Regions from separate parts of the Homo sapiens genome. Here region 1 is linked to region 2. Evidence: promoter capture Hi-C in 16 types of primary human blood cells and fetal thymus (Javierre and others, 2016). All regions are on one chromosome and are shown on one strand. The core of a region is centred on a gene start or on the middle of the fragment in contact, and the rest is flanking DNA. Distances in the headings are between cores, read along the strand shown. Region 1 has its middle 20 kb from the start of DDX18. Region 2 holds the start of CCDC93 (CCC complex scaffolding subunit CCDC93).

Region 1 (3,818 bases), core at 121-2,620, 220 kb before region 2:
TATAAAGTCAAAAAAATCTAGATATTTAAGATACAGCAATAAATGAACTACTTAGAAATATGATATTTACTTAGAATTTAAAAGAAAGAGCAGAAAGTTAAAGCAAGTTTCCACTGTGATGAAGACTGGAGTGAGAGATTTATTTTTTCCCTTGTAAATGTCACAGTACTTTTTATTTTTATTTTTACAAGTATTATCTTGATAACTTTTTTTTTGTTTTTGAGATAGGGTCTCACTCTGTCACCCAGGTTGGAGTGCAGTGTGTGATCATAGCTCATTGCAGCCTCAACATCCTGGGCTCAAGCAATCCTCCCGCCTCAGCCTCCCAAGTAGCTGAGATTACAGTCGCTCACCACAACACCAGGCTAATTTTTTTTTTTTTTTTTTTTTTTTTTTTTTGGTAGAGACAGGGATTTGCCATGTTGCCCAGACTTGTCTCGAATTCTGGACTCAAGAGATCTGCCTACCTCGGCCTCCTAAAACGCTGAGATTACAGGCATGAGCCATTGAACCTGACCTCTTGATAACTTTTTAATATTTACATTTCTAAGGAGATCTCTAATCAAGCACTATGAGCCACGTGAACTTTTAAATCACGTATTTATTCAATTCTGAGCCCTGTTAAAAGTATATGATTTGCTGGGCGTGGTGGCTCACGCCTGTAACCCCAGCACTTTGGGAGGCAGAGGCGGGTGCATCACCTGAGGTCAGGAGTTTGAGATGAGCCTGGCCAACATCGTGAAACCCCATCTCTACTAAAAATACAAACGTTAGCCAGGCGTGGTGGCAGGTGCCTGTAATCCCAGCTACTTGGGAGGCTGAGGCAGGAGAATCACTTGAACCCGGGAGACAGAGGTTGCACTGAGCCGAGATCATGCCATTGCACTCTAGCCTGGCAACAGAGCGAGACTCTGCCTAAAAAAAACAAACAAATAAACAAGCAAAAACAAATTATATGATTTAATATATTGTTCTAGTCACAAAAATCCAAATTCTCAAGACTGCACATACTGTACAGAACTTGAGCGATGATGGATGTATTTTCTCAGACTTTTGTTTAGGAGCAGACTGTGGACTAGAAATTTTAAACCCAGAGCCATAATGACTTAATGGCAAACTACATATTTCTAGGTGACTTCTTGGCCATAAGTTACTTTAGGTACTGAAAAGGGTGAGCTAGGTCTGCAGGTTTAGTCCATAGTTCTGTGTGTATTTGAGAGAGAGAAAGGGAGAGAATCCCTTACCATGATTCCTTAAAACATTTCTTTTTGGTAGCTGAATAGGTATAAATAATTGAGGTGCACATTGTTGATGGAAAAGAGATTGTAATCCTTTTTTTGAGAACCTTCATATTAAAAAAAAAAACAGAACAGCTTATCATAGAAAAGTCCTCTACCCTAGGGAAAATTATGATTTTAAAGATTATGAACCTGTCAGTCTATAAGTTATGAGCTAGAGGCAGCATCTGAAGTCTTGATTAATCTGCTCATTATTCAGTTGACCCTACTTGCTAGCCTTGAAAAATCAGTAGTGCTAATGTTACTTCAAGTAGAAAAACATGGGAGTCACTTCTCAACTGCAAGAGTCTGTGAAGTTTTCTTAATGGTGAAATCTGTACAGAAGTGATCTACTAAAATGGGTCCTTGGTACTTTATGGCTTAAAGTCTGTGCTTCCAAAAGGCTCTATTCTTCTCCCGCCCCTTGGAGAATTTCAAGCCAAGGTTTCTGAGCTGTACTGTGTGACTCACATGTCTGTATGAAAGGAGGCATGCCTATAGCCAAGAATCTAAGCAGGACTGAGAGCATTTTCATTCATTCATTCATTTTCTATTGAATCTCAACCATGTGTCAGCCACCATACTGCATGCTAGAAAAACAAAACAAATATAATAAGATATGTTCCCTGTGGCACCACGAGCCCAGAACCCACAAAGCACATCTTTGACGAGCTCTCCAGCTACTTTCAGCCTGCTTAAGGCTTTCTTTACAAACACAAAACAGCAAACCAGAGAAACACCTTAATGATACCTGCCAATGTTTATTGAGCTATTTTCTGTATACTAGGATTGTTCTAAGCACATGACACATATTGACTCATTTCACTTTCTCAGTGATCCAATGAGGTAGTTACTAACATCATCCCCATTTTATAGATAAGAAAATGAAGCACGAAAATTTAAGTAACTTGTCCCAAGTTTTTATAGCCTGGCTCCAGGTCTTGCAGGTATAATTATTCCTTTCACACAGGTGTAAGGCAAACCAAATGAAAAGGGAAAAAAGAATAAAGAGGCATTCTTCTTTCATAGTCACAGAGGTAAGTGACTATGTGAGTGAGTTTAACCCAAGATAAAGGGAATCAATAATGGCCAGTTACCTGGACATGCTGTCAGCTAATACCACCACATGCATAGTTTAGGCCTTCCTTTGCCTCCACCTTTATCCTTACTCTAGGAAGTCTTATGCATACGAATTCACAGACAGCTATTTGCAAAAAACAAGCCTATGGGAATGAAGCACTAAATATAATACTTTTTAATATTAGGTTGAGCTGAGAAGACAACAAAAATAGAAAATAACTAATGATGTACACTTTTTAGTACCATTTGCTCCATTTCAATGCCTTATCTAAGGAACCTAGAGGGAGATGAACCACTACAGGGGTTAGAGGGCCCAAAATGTGTAGATAATATTGATGCTATAGACTCACAGGTAACCTCTACAGCATGGGACAATGAGGCATGTACATGACAGGAAGACACATTGAGAATGCAAATGTGGGGACGTGGGGGTCAATTAGAAGATGCAGGTGAATCTCAATAAGAGCCACCAATACCTATGGAAATTTCTTAGAATTGAGCCCCTTGTTGGATGTGAAGGACCTCTTCAAGGAGAACTACAAACCACTGCTCAATGAAATAAAAGAGGATACAAACAAATGGAAGAACATTCCATGCTCATGGTTAGGAAGAATCAATATCGTGAAAATGGCCATACTGCCCAAGGTAATTTACAGATTCAATGCCATCCCCAACAAGCTACCAATGACTTTCTTCGCAGAACTGGAAAAAACTGCTTTAAAATTCATATGGAACCAAAAAAGAGCCCGCATTGCCAAGATAATCCTAAGCCAAAAGAACAAAGCTGGAGGTATCACGCTATCTGACTTCAAACTATACCACCAGCCTACAGAAATCCAAAACAGCATGGCACTGGTACCAAAACAGATATGTAGATCAATGGAACAGAACAGTGGCCTCAGAAATAACACCACTCATCTACAAACATCTGATCTTTGACAAACCTGACAAAAACAAGAAATGGGGAAAGGATTCCCTATTTAATAAATGGTGCTCAGAAAACTGGCTAGCCATGTGTAGAAAGCTGAAACTGAATCCCTTCCTTACACCTTATACAAAAACTAATTCAAGATGGATTAAAGACTTAAACATAAGACCTAAAACCATAAAGGCCCTAGAAGAAAACCTAGGCAATACCATTCAGGACATAGGCATGAGCAAGGACTTCATAACTAAAACACCAAAAGCAATGGCAACAAAAGCCAAAATTGACAAATGGGATCTAATTAAACTAAAGAGCTTCTGCACAGCAAAAGAAGTGACCATCAGAGTGAACAGGCCACCTACAGAATGGGAGAAAATTTTTGCAATCTATCCATCTGACAAAGGGCTAATACCCAGAATCTACAAAAAACTCAAACAAATTTACAAGAAAAAACTAAACAACCCCACCAAAAAGTGAGCGAAGGATATGAACAGACACTTCTCAAAAGAAAACATTTATGCAGCCAAAAGACACAT
Region 2 (4,208 bases), core at 221-2,720:
TGAGAGCCTAGAATACAGAAGTGGCAAAAAAGAAAACTTCAAATGTCACAGTACAAATCCTATTGTTCACTATCCTGGGTCCCATCCCAGGCAACGTGCATGTAAGATTTTACCTAATACAGGGGTTCTGACAACATTATGCTTGTCAGGTTTTCTTAAGACAACAAAATGGACTTGCATTCGGGGAGCACACACTGACAAACAAATCTGTCCTTTCAGACTATATATATTCCCAGCTTCTGGACACAGAACACAGTGATCCCTCAATTAGTGGATACTTGTGATATGAAAGAACTGAGGATTTGGGAGGAATGCAGAGGAGTAACATTGGTCACTGGCAGGTAAGTGTGAAGGGACGACTCACCACGTCAAGCAAGCAGTCACCCTGCCCAATGCCTGCTCCAGAACCTTAGGAAAAAGGCAGAGGTGCGGCGTGGCTTCCATTTCTCTCCAGAATCCAGTAAACTAGACTAGCCTTTGAGTAAAATCAACTGAAAGGGACGACAGATGCAAACTACCTATGAGATGCTAAGTGGTATTTGCAGCCAAAAGAAAATGAATACACTTTCCCTGTATTCCCAGCAAACGTGGAAATCCGCAAACCACTCATGACCCCCTCCCTAGCACTAAGTGAGTACTTAACAAACACCTTTGGAAAAGAACCCCGCCCTCTTCTGGAGAAGCCGCAGCCTTTCCGCCCAGAGCCGGGTCCCCCGCCACACAGCACCCCTGGAGTGCGTCCCACCCCGAACGCCCCGGCGCGCTGACCCAGCGGGACACCTCCCTGGTGCGCGCAAGTCTCCCAAACTTCCTCCCGCCGCCCCGGCCCGGGTCCACGCAAGGAGGGTGGCATTCCCTCCCGACAGCAAGGCGGGTGGGGCGGGCCGCCGGGACTCTGCGGGGTGGCGGTAGACGTCCCAAGGTCACCACCCGAGCCCGAACCGCCTCGGAGAGCGGTCTCGTGACTCCAGCGCCCAGCAGCCTCGGCCCTCGGGGCTAGCCCTGCGGCGCGGGGTGGGGGAGCCCGTCCCGGACAGGGAGAAAGGTGGGAGCCCAGGACCCCGCGGCGCGTGGGGCTGCGTCAGAGCAGGTGTCGGGCTAGGAAGGCCACCTGCGCCCCAAGAGACCCGGGAGCGGCTTAAGTTTGTCCTCACCCGCCCGCCGCCCCCTGCCCATGCAGGGGTACCTGCTCCCCGCCTCCAAGAAGAGGGTCGGCGCTTCCCTGAGGTGGATACGCCTGAGGAAGGGGGCGGGGCGCCCCTAACGCACCCAGGGCCCGCTCAGCCCGCCGCCCCGCGGCTCGGCCCTCTCTTCAGGAACCCCGACGTGTCAGGGAAGGAGGAGGCGTTCTTACCTCCGGGAGACCCTGGCCCTCCGGCCCCCTGGGCAACCCCATGATCCGACCGGGCTGTCGTAAGGCGAGAGCGAAGCCCGCCAAGCGTCCGGAGGAAGCTGTCCCTGCCGCGGAGCTGCTACCGGGGTGGAGTACAAAGCGGAAACTCCCTCTGCCGCCGCCGCCGCCGCCGCCGCCGCCTGCCCGAAGCGCCGCAGCCGGGCAGAGCATGCGCGCTGGGGCCGGAGCGCGGCGCCACTGCGCCTGCGCCACAGCAGCCCGGGGAGAGGTGGGCTGGGCTGCAGGTCCTGGCGTTGTGCTGGATCATCGCGCCCGTACTCTGAAGTTTTCTCCGTGGCGCTCTTTGAGAGGGGTTCCTCCTGCATCTTGAGAATATTTTGCATTTCGGCTCCCTTCTCTTCTCGCTGCCATCGGATGCCCCAAATAGGTCCTGTCCCCTCGGTGAATCAGACTTCGGAAACCGCCTCGCTTCAGGGTCAGAGTCCAAGTACAGATGAGCTTGAGGATTCTGAATGCACGCCCGGCTCTAGACCTTACAGACACACGCTTGGACAGACTTCTCCATATACGACCCAGGAACGGACCCCTTGAGAAGGGATTCTTCAAGCCCGCTGCCCTCTCCAGCGTCCTGGCCAGTGGCATCGCGTTCCCAGGAAACCTCGCTTCAGATATTGCCCACCACCCCGCCCTATTCACGGTTCCTGGGTCTTCCTGGAGGAATGACATCTCAGAGAATGCGGACTCCTATGTTCATGTCATTTGAGCCGCCGCGTCCCTTATTTGATGTACCCCTTGTTGGTCCCGGAGGATGGCAACTAGACAAAAGGTCACAGGCCCCCACACCCGCTCCATAACGGCTTCTTGGCTTTTTGTTTCTTTTAAGCAATGAGGAAAGAGATGACTTTCGTGAAAACTTTTGCTGGAGAAGAGATCCTTCCCTCTGTATATGTGTGTGGGATGGGAAGTGTCAGACTCAGACCTTTAGTTCCTTGAGATCAAAAAGGTTTCGTGTTTGCTTTCGTCTCTTCTTTGCATCCCTAGCGTCTTTAAAAGAGTAGGCAGGCGCGGTGGCACATGCCTGTAATCCCAGCACTTTGGGGGTCGAGGCGGGAGTATCACTTGAACCTAGGAGTTGGAGACCAACCTGGGCAACATAGTGAGACCTCCATCTCTACAAAAAATAAGAAAATTAGCCCGGTGCCAGTGGTCCCAGCTAGCCGGTAGGCTGAGGTGGGAGAATTGCTTGAGCCAGGAAGGTTGAGGTTGCAGTGAGCTATGATAACACCACTGCACTCCTGCTTGGGTGACAGAGCAAGACCCTGTCTAAAAACTATATATATATACGTGTATATATATATATGTGTGTATATATATATACGTGTATATATGTGTGTATATATATACGTGTATATATATATGATGTTTTCTATTTTATTTTATTTTTGCACCTTTTGTACTCCTCCTGGAGTTCATCCTGACAGACAGAGGTTTGTCTGGAGCCAGAGCTCACAAATAGTTGGAACTGCCCTAAGGATGCCATTTTGTTCTTAAATATAACTAGCAAATATTACTCAAAGCTGTGCACGATCCCCAAACCCTGGTCCCCAATAATTTGAATAATCTGAATATGCAAGTTAAGGTATTGAGATGGGAACCCTCCTGTGTGGTATATCTTGCTCTTATCCTTTGTGAAGCCAATAAACTTCAATTTCTACTCTCATAACTTCCCAAATGTGTTGTTTTTGTAGTTTTAAAACTGTCATTCACTGAAATGGTATAGGTTGATGGGGAATGGAGAGTGATAATAATTTGTGGCCACTGTTGAGTGACCAGACAGGTACTGATGCCTAGGAACAGGTAGTAAGATCTCACATAGCAGGCAAGCCTAAACAGCTGTATATAATAGCAGCCTGGAGAATAACAGGACTCAGGCCACACCCTGAGTTCCCTGTTATAATGCTTTTGCAATGTTTTAAATAAGCATGAGTAGCTAACTTCCTCAGTAAGAAACTGTCCTTCCCGAGCGCGGTGGCTCATGTCTGTAATCCCAGCACTTTGAGAGGCCGAGGCGGGTGGATCACCTGAGATTGGGAGTTCGAGACCAGCCTGACCAACATGGAGAAATGCCGTCTCTACTAAAAATACAAAATTAGCCGGGCGTGGCAGCGCATGCCTGTAATCCCAGCTACTTGGTAGGCTGAGGCAGGAGAATCACTTGAACTGGGAAGGCGGAGGTTGCGGTGAGCTGAGATTGTGCCACTGCACTCCAGCCTGGGCAACAAGAGTGAAACTCTGTCTAAAAAAAAAAAAAGAAACTGTCCTATGTTACAACAGGTGTAGAGTGACAGTAACAGAGTTGAGGGGCATGGGGCATGCTTAAAAAAAAAAATCTCAGCAAAACAGCCATAATATCGTCAAGAAAGTTTGAACAGGGCTAGGTGGCACCTGCTTATGTCCCAGCAACTCGGGAGGCTGAGGCAGGAAAATCGCTTGAGCCCAGGAGTTCTGGGCTTTAGTAAGCTATGCCAATCAGAGATCTGCACTAAGTTTGGTATCAATACAGTGACCTCCAGGGAGCAAGGTTGCCTAAGGAGTGGTGAACTGGCCCAGGTCAGAAACAGAGCAGGTTAAAACTTCTGTGCTGATCAGTAGTGGGATCATGACCATGAATAGCCACTGCACTTAAGCCTGGGCAATATAGCAAGACACTGTCTCTTAAAAAAGAAAAAGAAAGTTTAAGCAGCCCATATTTGAGAGCAGAAACCCTTCACAGTCTTGAAGAAGACCTTTAACAGCCAATGCAGACAAGGAGGCTTGTGAGGAATCTCTCAGATCAATCCATCTCTCTCCCTTT

What was found. The method cuts DNA at HindIII sites, captures the fragments that hold promoters and counts their contacts. A CHiCAGO score of 5 or more calls a contact.
Region 1: a contact is called between a fragment that was not itself captured here and the fragment with the promoter of CCDC93 in region 2, in 2 of 17 cell types (naive CD8 T cells and naive B cells). The highest score is 6.7, in naive CD8 T cells.

Annotation. Positions count from the first base shown.
Region 1 is chr2:117,793,148-117,796,965 of GRCh38, forward strand. No RefSeq gene overlaps it. Among named protein-coding and RNA genes, the nearest start is that of DDX18, 20 kb to the right of the region's middle. The HindIII fragment of the contact is 7,003 bases long and covers 1-3,818 here.
Region 2 is chr2:118,012,600-118,016,807 of GRCh38, forward strand. CCDC93 (CCC complex scaffolding subunit CCDC93) reads right to left here and starts at 1,471. Exons shown (of 24, transcript NM_019044.5): 1 at 1,355-1,471. The coding sequence starts at 1,396. It also overlaps the pseudogene RN7SL111P. RefSeq lists silencers at 959-1,008, 1,479-1,678. The HindIII fragment of the contact is 9,438 bases long and covers 1-4,208 here.